2 separate regions of the Homo sapiens genome follow, and region 1 is linked to region 2. The links are contacts of gene promoters, found by promoter capture Hi-C in blood cells and fetal thymus (Javierre and others, 2016). All regions are on one chromosome and are shown on one strand. Each heading gives the region's core, a stretch centred on a gene start or on the middle of the fragment in contact. The rest is flanking DNA. Distances are from core to core; before and after follow the strand shown.

Region 1 (3,714 bases), core at 385-2,884, 270 kb after region 2:
TCAGACATTTACTATGTGACACAAGACAAAATAAAGTGGATTTTTTTTTTTTTTTTTTGAGACGGAGTCTTGCTCTGTCACCCAGGCTGGAGTGCAGTGGTGCTCACTGCAAGCTCCGTCTCCCGGGTTCACGCCATTCTCCTGCCTCAGCCTCCCGAGTAGCTGGGACTACAGGCGCCCACCACCATGCCTGGCTAATTTTTTTGTATTTTTAGTAGAGACGGGGTTTCACCGTGTTAGCCAGGATGGTCTCAATCCCCTGACCTCGTGATCTGCCCGTCTCGGCCTCCCAAAGTGCCACCGGACCCAGCGCCCAGCCTTGAATTTTTTTTATACCTGGTGAAATGTCCTTAAAAGCTGTAAAATTCCTAAAGATTTTAAATGCACCTTAATAGGACAGGCTACAAAGCAACCACTTGGTTTCACAGTAAGTCCCTAAAGGGAATATGGAGATGCTAAACTTCACTACCCTTTTCTTCGTATATAAGAAGCAAAAGAGGAAGTAACAAATCATACTGTATAACTGTGCACTTAGCATTAACCCTTTTAAAATTTACATTTCTAATGGATGTTGGGCTTAATACCTAGGTGGTAGGTTGATCTGTGCAGCAAACCACCATGGCACACATTTACCTACGTAAAAAACCTGTACATCCTACATATGTACCCTGGAACTTAAAATAAAAGTTGATGGGGAAAAAAAAGTACATTTAAAAAGAATCAGCTAATTATTACACTGCAAAAACAATATAACATATTTTCTTTTTTTCTTTTTTTTTTACTTTTTCTTTTTTTTTTTTTTTTTTGAGAGTCTCACTCTGTCGCCCAGGCTGGAGCTGCAGTAGCATGATCTGGGCTCACGGCGACCTCTGCCTCCCAGGTTCAAGCAATTCTCCTGCCTCAGCCTCCCTAGTAGCTGGGATTTCTGGTGCCCACCACCACGCCCAGCTAATTTTTTGCATTTTTAGTAGGGACGGGGTTTCACCATGTTGCCCAGGCTGGTCTCAAACTCCTGACCTCAGGTGATCCACCCACCTCGGCCTCCCAAACTTCTGGAATTACAGGCGTGAGCCACCGTGCCCAGCCCAATTTAACATAGTCTCAATGAGGGGAACAAATAGTTGTAAGCACACAATCAATGGCAGGGAATTACTTGTGAAGAGTGACCTATCAGCAGAATGTAGTAGTATGTTAAAGAGAAAAATGGGGCCAGGTGCAGTAGCTCACATCCATAAACCCAACAATTTGGGAGGCCAAGGTGTGAGGATTACTTGAGCTCAGGAGTTTGAGACCAGCCTGAGTAACATACCGAGACTCTGTCTCTACTAAATATTTTAAAAATTAGCCATGCATGGTGGCGCACAGCTGTAGTCCTAGCTATTTGGAAGGCTAGGGCAGGAGGATCACTTGAGCCAGAAGGTCAAAGCTGCAGTGAGCCACGATTGTGCCACTGTACTCCAGCTTAGGTGACAGGGTGAGATGCTGTCTTTAAAAGAAAAAAAATTAATTAAAAAATAGAAATACATACATATATAGAAAAATGGGAAGTACAATCTTAGTCCATATGACTACTTTAAATGTATGATACATCACTTGATGTACTAAGTATACTATCTAATTAAGTATGTCTAATTAATAATAGCTGTCTCAAAGTAAACTGGAAACCAAAAGGCTACTTTGCCCAATGTCTGTTTTTAAAACTACTGACAAAGAACATACAGAAAGGCCGAGCACGATGGCTCACACCTGTGATTACAGCACTTTGGGAGGCCAAGGCGGGTGGATCCCTTGAGCTCAGGAATTTGAGACCAGGCTGGGCAATAGGGTGAAACCCCGTCTCTACTAAAATTACAAAAATTAGCCAGGCGTAGTGGTGCATGTCTGTAATCTCAGCTACTCTGGAGGCTGAGGCACAAGAATCACTTGAACCCAGGAGGCAGAGGTTGCAATGAGCCGAGACTGCACCACTGCACTCCAGCCTGGGTAACAGAGAAAGCCTCTGCCTCAAAATAAAAAACAAATACCTCAAAAAGATGGCAATTAATCCAAATGTAGCCTGACTTTCTTAAACAATTCCTACTGAGTCTCTAAATACTACTTCTAAAGCAACAGAGTTCTTTAGACAAAGGGCTAATTCTAGGTCAGGGCAGAAAATTTATAAGATGAGCCTGGTACACCTTAGTATACCTTGTCCTTCCAGAAGCAAGAGAGTTATCAAAAACTGGCATGTCAAAAATTAAAAAAAAAAAAAAAAACTAGCAGAAGCCAACATGAAGAGGCTCCTATTGATTAAAGATGAGACAATCTGAACATCAAAAAAGACTATAATGGAGTGAAACATATCAAATGTTAAAAATTCATGAGTTCATAATGATACTTAAAAAAAAAACAGGAGTTCCCTTTGGAAAAAACTAGGGAATCAACTCATTCTTAAAATTGATAAATGAAAGAAAATACACATATATCATGTCTCTTCTGTAAAAACTGCATTTCAGGTTAACCAAATGGTTGTTATAGTCAACTATATGGAATGCTAGCAATAAATGTAGAAGAAACTATAGATTTAGAGTTTCACATACAACAGCAAATCCAGGCAATGATCAAAAATGGCTGTTGAAACCATCAAGCAAGTTTTAAAATGAATGGATCAGGATGAAAACACCTTTACACACTAATCAATATTTATAACACAGAAAGGAGACAACCAGACATCATGAGCATTATAATGTACTGTGTAGGAAGTACATAACGCCATCTATAAAATGTTCTTGCCAAAAAAAGAAAAAAATTGAATTTTATCAAATACCTAGCTCTAACTTCAAATTTACAGGTAATACAGGGGATAGAGGAATGTGTTAGATGACACCAGAAGATCAATCTGCCAAGTCTAGAATGTGAGAAAATTCTTTAGGACAAATGATCTATTTCTTCAACAAATAAACGCCAAGGGAGAAAAAAAAAGAAGTAAAGGATATTTCTATAAAGACTTAAGAAAGATATCAACTAAACGTAATGTATAACCCTGTTTGGATATAGCGTCAAATAAACCAGGTACAAAAGGGCATTTATGATACAATTGAGAAATATGAAAACTAACTGGATATTTCACAAGGAATAGTAAACTGTTACAAATTTTGGGGGGGACTGTGATAATAGTACTGTGTGTATGTAGGATTTTGTGTGTATGTATGTTTAATTCTTATCTTCAAAGATACATAAGTTTTTACAGATGAAATGCTACTATATTTGGGACTTATTCTAAAACAATCATGTCATTAAGCTGAATTTTGAGGAGCAATAAAAAAGAAAACAAAAATAAAAACTAAGGCCAGGTGTGATGGCTCACATCTGTAATCCCAGCACTTTGAGAGGCTGAGGCTGGAGGACTGCTTGAGCCCAGGAGTTTGAGACCAGCCTGGGCAACATGGGGAGCCCTCATCTCTACAAAAAATTTAAAAATCAGCCAGGTATGGTGGCACGCATCTGTGCTCCCAGCTACTCATGAGGCTGAGACAGGAGGCCTGCTTGAGCCCAGGAGGTCAAGACTGCAGTGAGCCAAGATTGTGCCACTGTACTCAAGGCTGGGTGACAGAGCAAGACCTTGTCTAAAAAAAAAAAAAAAAAACCACAGCACTAAAATAATCAAGTCAGGAGTAGGTTATGGATGAAGCAAGATTAACCACATTGATTAACTGTTGAAGCCAGAAATAAGTA
Region 2 (3,907 bases), core at 1,020-3,519:
AACTCCTGACCTCGGGTGATCCACCTGCCTTGGCCTCCCAAAGTGCTGGGATTACAGGTGTGAGCTACCGTGCCCAGAAGCAATTATTTTTAAATAAAAAGTTAAAATAAATTTCCCCCAAAAGAGCGGAGAAAGTTCATTATCCTTCAGTCCAAAGACTTTATCTCTAGCTGGAGCACCAGGAGATGCTTCCCTGAGTCAGTACCAATAGACTTGGGAAGTACCACATGACAGTCTTTAGTTTCCCTCAATTGTCTATTAAGAATCAAATTTCCATGGTATTAAAGGTGGCTTGAACCCATTTAGCTTTTTATCTTATACAGCTTCAGGAGGCTTGAATATCATAATCTTGAATATATAAGCCACAGTGTGAAGCAGTATATTTGTTTCTTGGTTCTGAATGAATCTCTTCCACATACATCAAGTGAACTACCTTCCTTGTAGTCTACAATCTGCAAAACATCACTCTGCTCCCTCCCCCATTTTCTTCCCTGTAAGACGTTGCGGGCCTCTTCACACCCAAAAGTGATGCTTGTTGAGACTCAAGGATATTTCATCCTTAAGTAGTTACTGGGAGTTACTGTGCCTTGCTGGAATAAGGTGTTGCCCCAATTTACTGTTCTATAGGAACAACTACTTCCCAGAGGTAAAAGGAAGGAAAGCAAAAGGAAATAGAAATGGAAACAAAGGAACCCAGCACCACTGACCACTGTCCCAATAGCTATACTGATCACTACTTATTTATTTTCTAGGACACTGAAGAATTTTAAAACGTCAGACCCTTCTTTACTTGCGAAAAACGTGAAAGCACAGTACCAGAATCCAGAGATCTGAATGCAGCAGCATACTCTCCTGTATATCATGCTTTAGCTTTTCTGACTAGCCACACTCAATGTAGCATGTATCTTCATATCAACCCCACAAACCCCATTCTCTGAACATTTTGAGCTCCTCTAATCCCCCCAGAGTATCCATTGCTTATTTTAAAATTTCAGGGCTAGTTCTACCAAATCATCTTATCTGAGAATTTTTTTATTTCTAGAGACAGAGGATCACTCTGTCACTCAGGTTGGAGTGCAGCAGCACAGTCATAGCTCACTGCAACCTCGAACTCCTGGGCTTAAGCAACCCTCTCACCTCAGTCTCTTAAGTAGCTAGGACTACAGGTGTACACCATCATGGCTGACTTTTTTTTTTTTCTTTTTTTTTTTTTTCTTGTTTGTTTGGTAGAGGTGGGGGCAGGGGTCTCACTTTGTTGCCCAGGCTGGTCTCGAACTTCTGGCCTTAAGCAATCCTCCCGCCTCCACCTCCCCAAATTCTGGGATTACAGGCATGAGCCAGTGTGCCCAGCACAAAATCTTTACCAACTTTAAAATATAATTTAAAAAAATCTCTTAAATGCCTTCCACATAGATATTGATTTTTCTTTCATTTCTCTTGTCTTGGTAAATCCTCTAGGAATGCTCTCTGAAAAGCAGCTTAATTCATCATGCAGTTGCCTTCATCACCATCACTTGTTGAAAAGTCTTATTAGTATGTAAAGCAGTTCTAATTTGGAGCTGTAAAATTGCTTCTAAAAACTCGTAATAGAATAAACTGAGAGTCATCCATAATTAGATTTTTTTAATAGGACTTCTAACTTGTTTTCATTATCCAGCTGTGTTTGAACTCAGCCAGCTGTTGATGGAACTGAGGTGGTTGTAAGGGTTGGGGAAAAGAAGAGGAAGCTCATCTCTGCAGAGTGGGTAGGGGAAGCTTTAGTTCTCAGTTTAAAACAGTGGTTCTCAAAGTGTGGTCTCCCAACCTGCAGCATCAGAGTCTCATGGGAACTTGTTAGAAATGATTTCTTGGGCCCTACTCCAGACCCACTGGATCCGGCCATCAGGTGAAGTTCAAAGAACTTGGTTCAGATGTAGTGTTCACTAAATTACAGACAGCAGTCAAGATTTTAGGAAGAGCTGGTTGAAAATAATTGCCTTGACTGGCTCTAGTGACCCCCCAAGGAACACATGCCACTTACATGTATGTTCTCTTCATTCATCATTTATGGGTATATTTGTATTACTCCACAGGGCTGACGATTTGGTATTAGACTTGCTAATGAGCAGCAGCCATGTGCTCCTGCTATCTGACAGTCGGTACAGTCACAAGTATATTGTATGCAGCAGAGAAGAGCTTAACAGCCAGCCTCCTTCCACATTCTGCTCTCAGGAAATAAGCAAGGGGAGGATCCAGAAGTGTCATTTGACACTGACGACAGAGTACTTATTTCCTATGCAAAAGAGCCCAGGCAGAAAGACAAACCTAAATAAGAATCTAACTTCTGTAAGAAGCTGTGAAGAGTGATGCTGGCAGCTGCCTTTGCAGACTCTAACTCCAGCAGCATGAATGTGTCCTTTGCTCACCTCCACTTTGCCGGAGGGTACCTGCCCTCTGATTCCCAGGACTGGAGAACCATCATCCCGGCTCTCTTGGTGGCTGTCTGCCTGGTGGGCTTCGTGGGAAACCTGTGTGTGATTGGCATCCTCCTTCACAATGCTTGGAAAGGAAAGCCATCCATGATCCACTCCCTGATTCTGAATCTCAGCCTGGCTGATCTCTCCCTCCTGCTGTTTTCTGCACCTATCCGAGCTACGGCGTACTCCAAAAGTGTTTGGGATCTAGGCTGGTTTGTCTGCAAGTCCTCTGACTGGTTTATCCACACATGCATGGCAGCCAAGAGCCTGACAATCGTTGTGGTGGCCAAAGTATGCTTCATGTATGCAAGTGACCCAGCCAAGCAAGTGAGTATCCACAACTACACCATCTGGTCAGTGCTGGTGGCCATCTGGACTGTGGCTAGCCTGTTACCCCTGCCGGAATGGTTCTTTAGCACCATCAGGCATCATGAAGGTGTGGAAATGTGCCTCGTGGATGTACCAGCTGTGGCTGAAGAGTTTATGTCGATGTTTGGTAAGCTCTACCCACTCCTGGCATTTGGCCTTCCATTATTTTTTGCCAGCTTTTATTTCTGGAGAGCTTATGACCAATGTAAAAAACGAGGAACTAAGACTCAAAATCTTAGAAACCAGATACGCTCAAAGCAAGTCACAGTGATGCTGCTGAGCATTGCCATCATCTCTGCTCTCTTGTGGCTCCCCGAATGGGTAGCTTGGCTGTGGGTATGGCATCTGAAGGCTGCAGGCCCGGCCCCACCACAAGGTTTCATAGCCCTGTCTCAAGTCTTGATGTTTTCCATCTCTTCAGCAAATCCTCTCATTTTTCTTGTGATGTCGGAAGAGTTCAGGGAAGGCTTGAAAGGTGTATGGAAATGGATGATAACCAAAAAACCTCCAACTGTCTCAGAGTCTCAGGAAACACCAGCTGGCAACTCAGAGGGTCTTCCTGACAAGGTTCCATCTCCAGAATCCCCAGCATCCATACCAGAAAAAGAGAAACCCAGCTCTCCCTCCTCTGGCAAAGGGAAAACTGAGAAGGCAGAGATTCCCATCCTTCCTGACGTAGAGCAGTTTTGGCATGAGAGGGACACAGTCCCTTCTGTACAGGACAATGACCCTATCCCCTGGGAACATGAAGATCAAGAGACAGGGGAAGGTGTTAAATAGATTTAAGTTTCAAAGCAAAACAAACTGTGATTATTGTATTTACTTGTACTGCTGCTTATCAATATTGCTGACTTTACAAACTGATATAATTATTACCATTAGGAATTATAAAAATATTTCACAATCTACACTTTCCAAATGTGCAATGTGGTAAGTAGAGAACCATGTTAGAAGTAATAATTGTTTCAGAATTAGAACTTGGCTTCCCAAACAATTTAAGTGTTGTGTAAAGATGTTGCTGTCAAAGTGATTAGACAGCCTGGCTATTCTGTCATTTGTTCACAGTGGTTTTACTGGGTACC

Evidence for each region. Contacts are between HindIII fragments. The CHiCAGO score rates a contact against its expected background, and 5 or more counts as called.
Region 1: a contact is called between a fragment that was not itself captured here and the fragment with the promoter of GPR151 in region 2, in 1 of 17 cell types (monocytes). The highest score is 5.3, in monocytes.

Annotation. Positions count from the first base shown.
Region 1 is chr5:146,246,776-146,250,489 of GRCh38, reverse strand. The region is part of intron 8 of RBM27-POU4F3 (RBM27-POU4F3 readthrough); the gene reads right to left. All of the region lies in intron 8 of RBM27 (RNA binding motif protein 27), which reads right to left. Among named protein-coding and RNA genes, the nearest start is that of RBM27-POU4F3, 45 kb to the right of the region's middle. The HindIII fragment of the contact is 5,614 bases long and covers 1-3,714 here.
Region 2 is chr5:146,514,552-146,518,458 of GRCh38, reverse strand. It overlaps GPR151 (G protein-coupled receptor 151), which reads left to right and starts at 2,269. Exons shown (of 1, transcript NM_194251.3): 1 at 2,269-3,907. The coding sequence starts at 2,346. The coding sequence ends at 3,605. The HindIII fragment of the contact is 3,538 bases long and covers 1,758-3,907 here.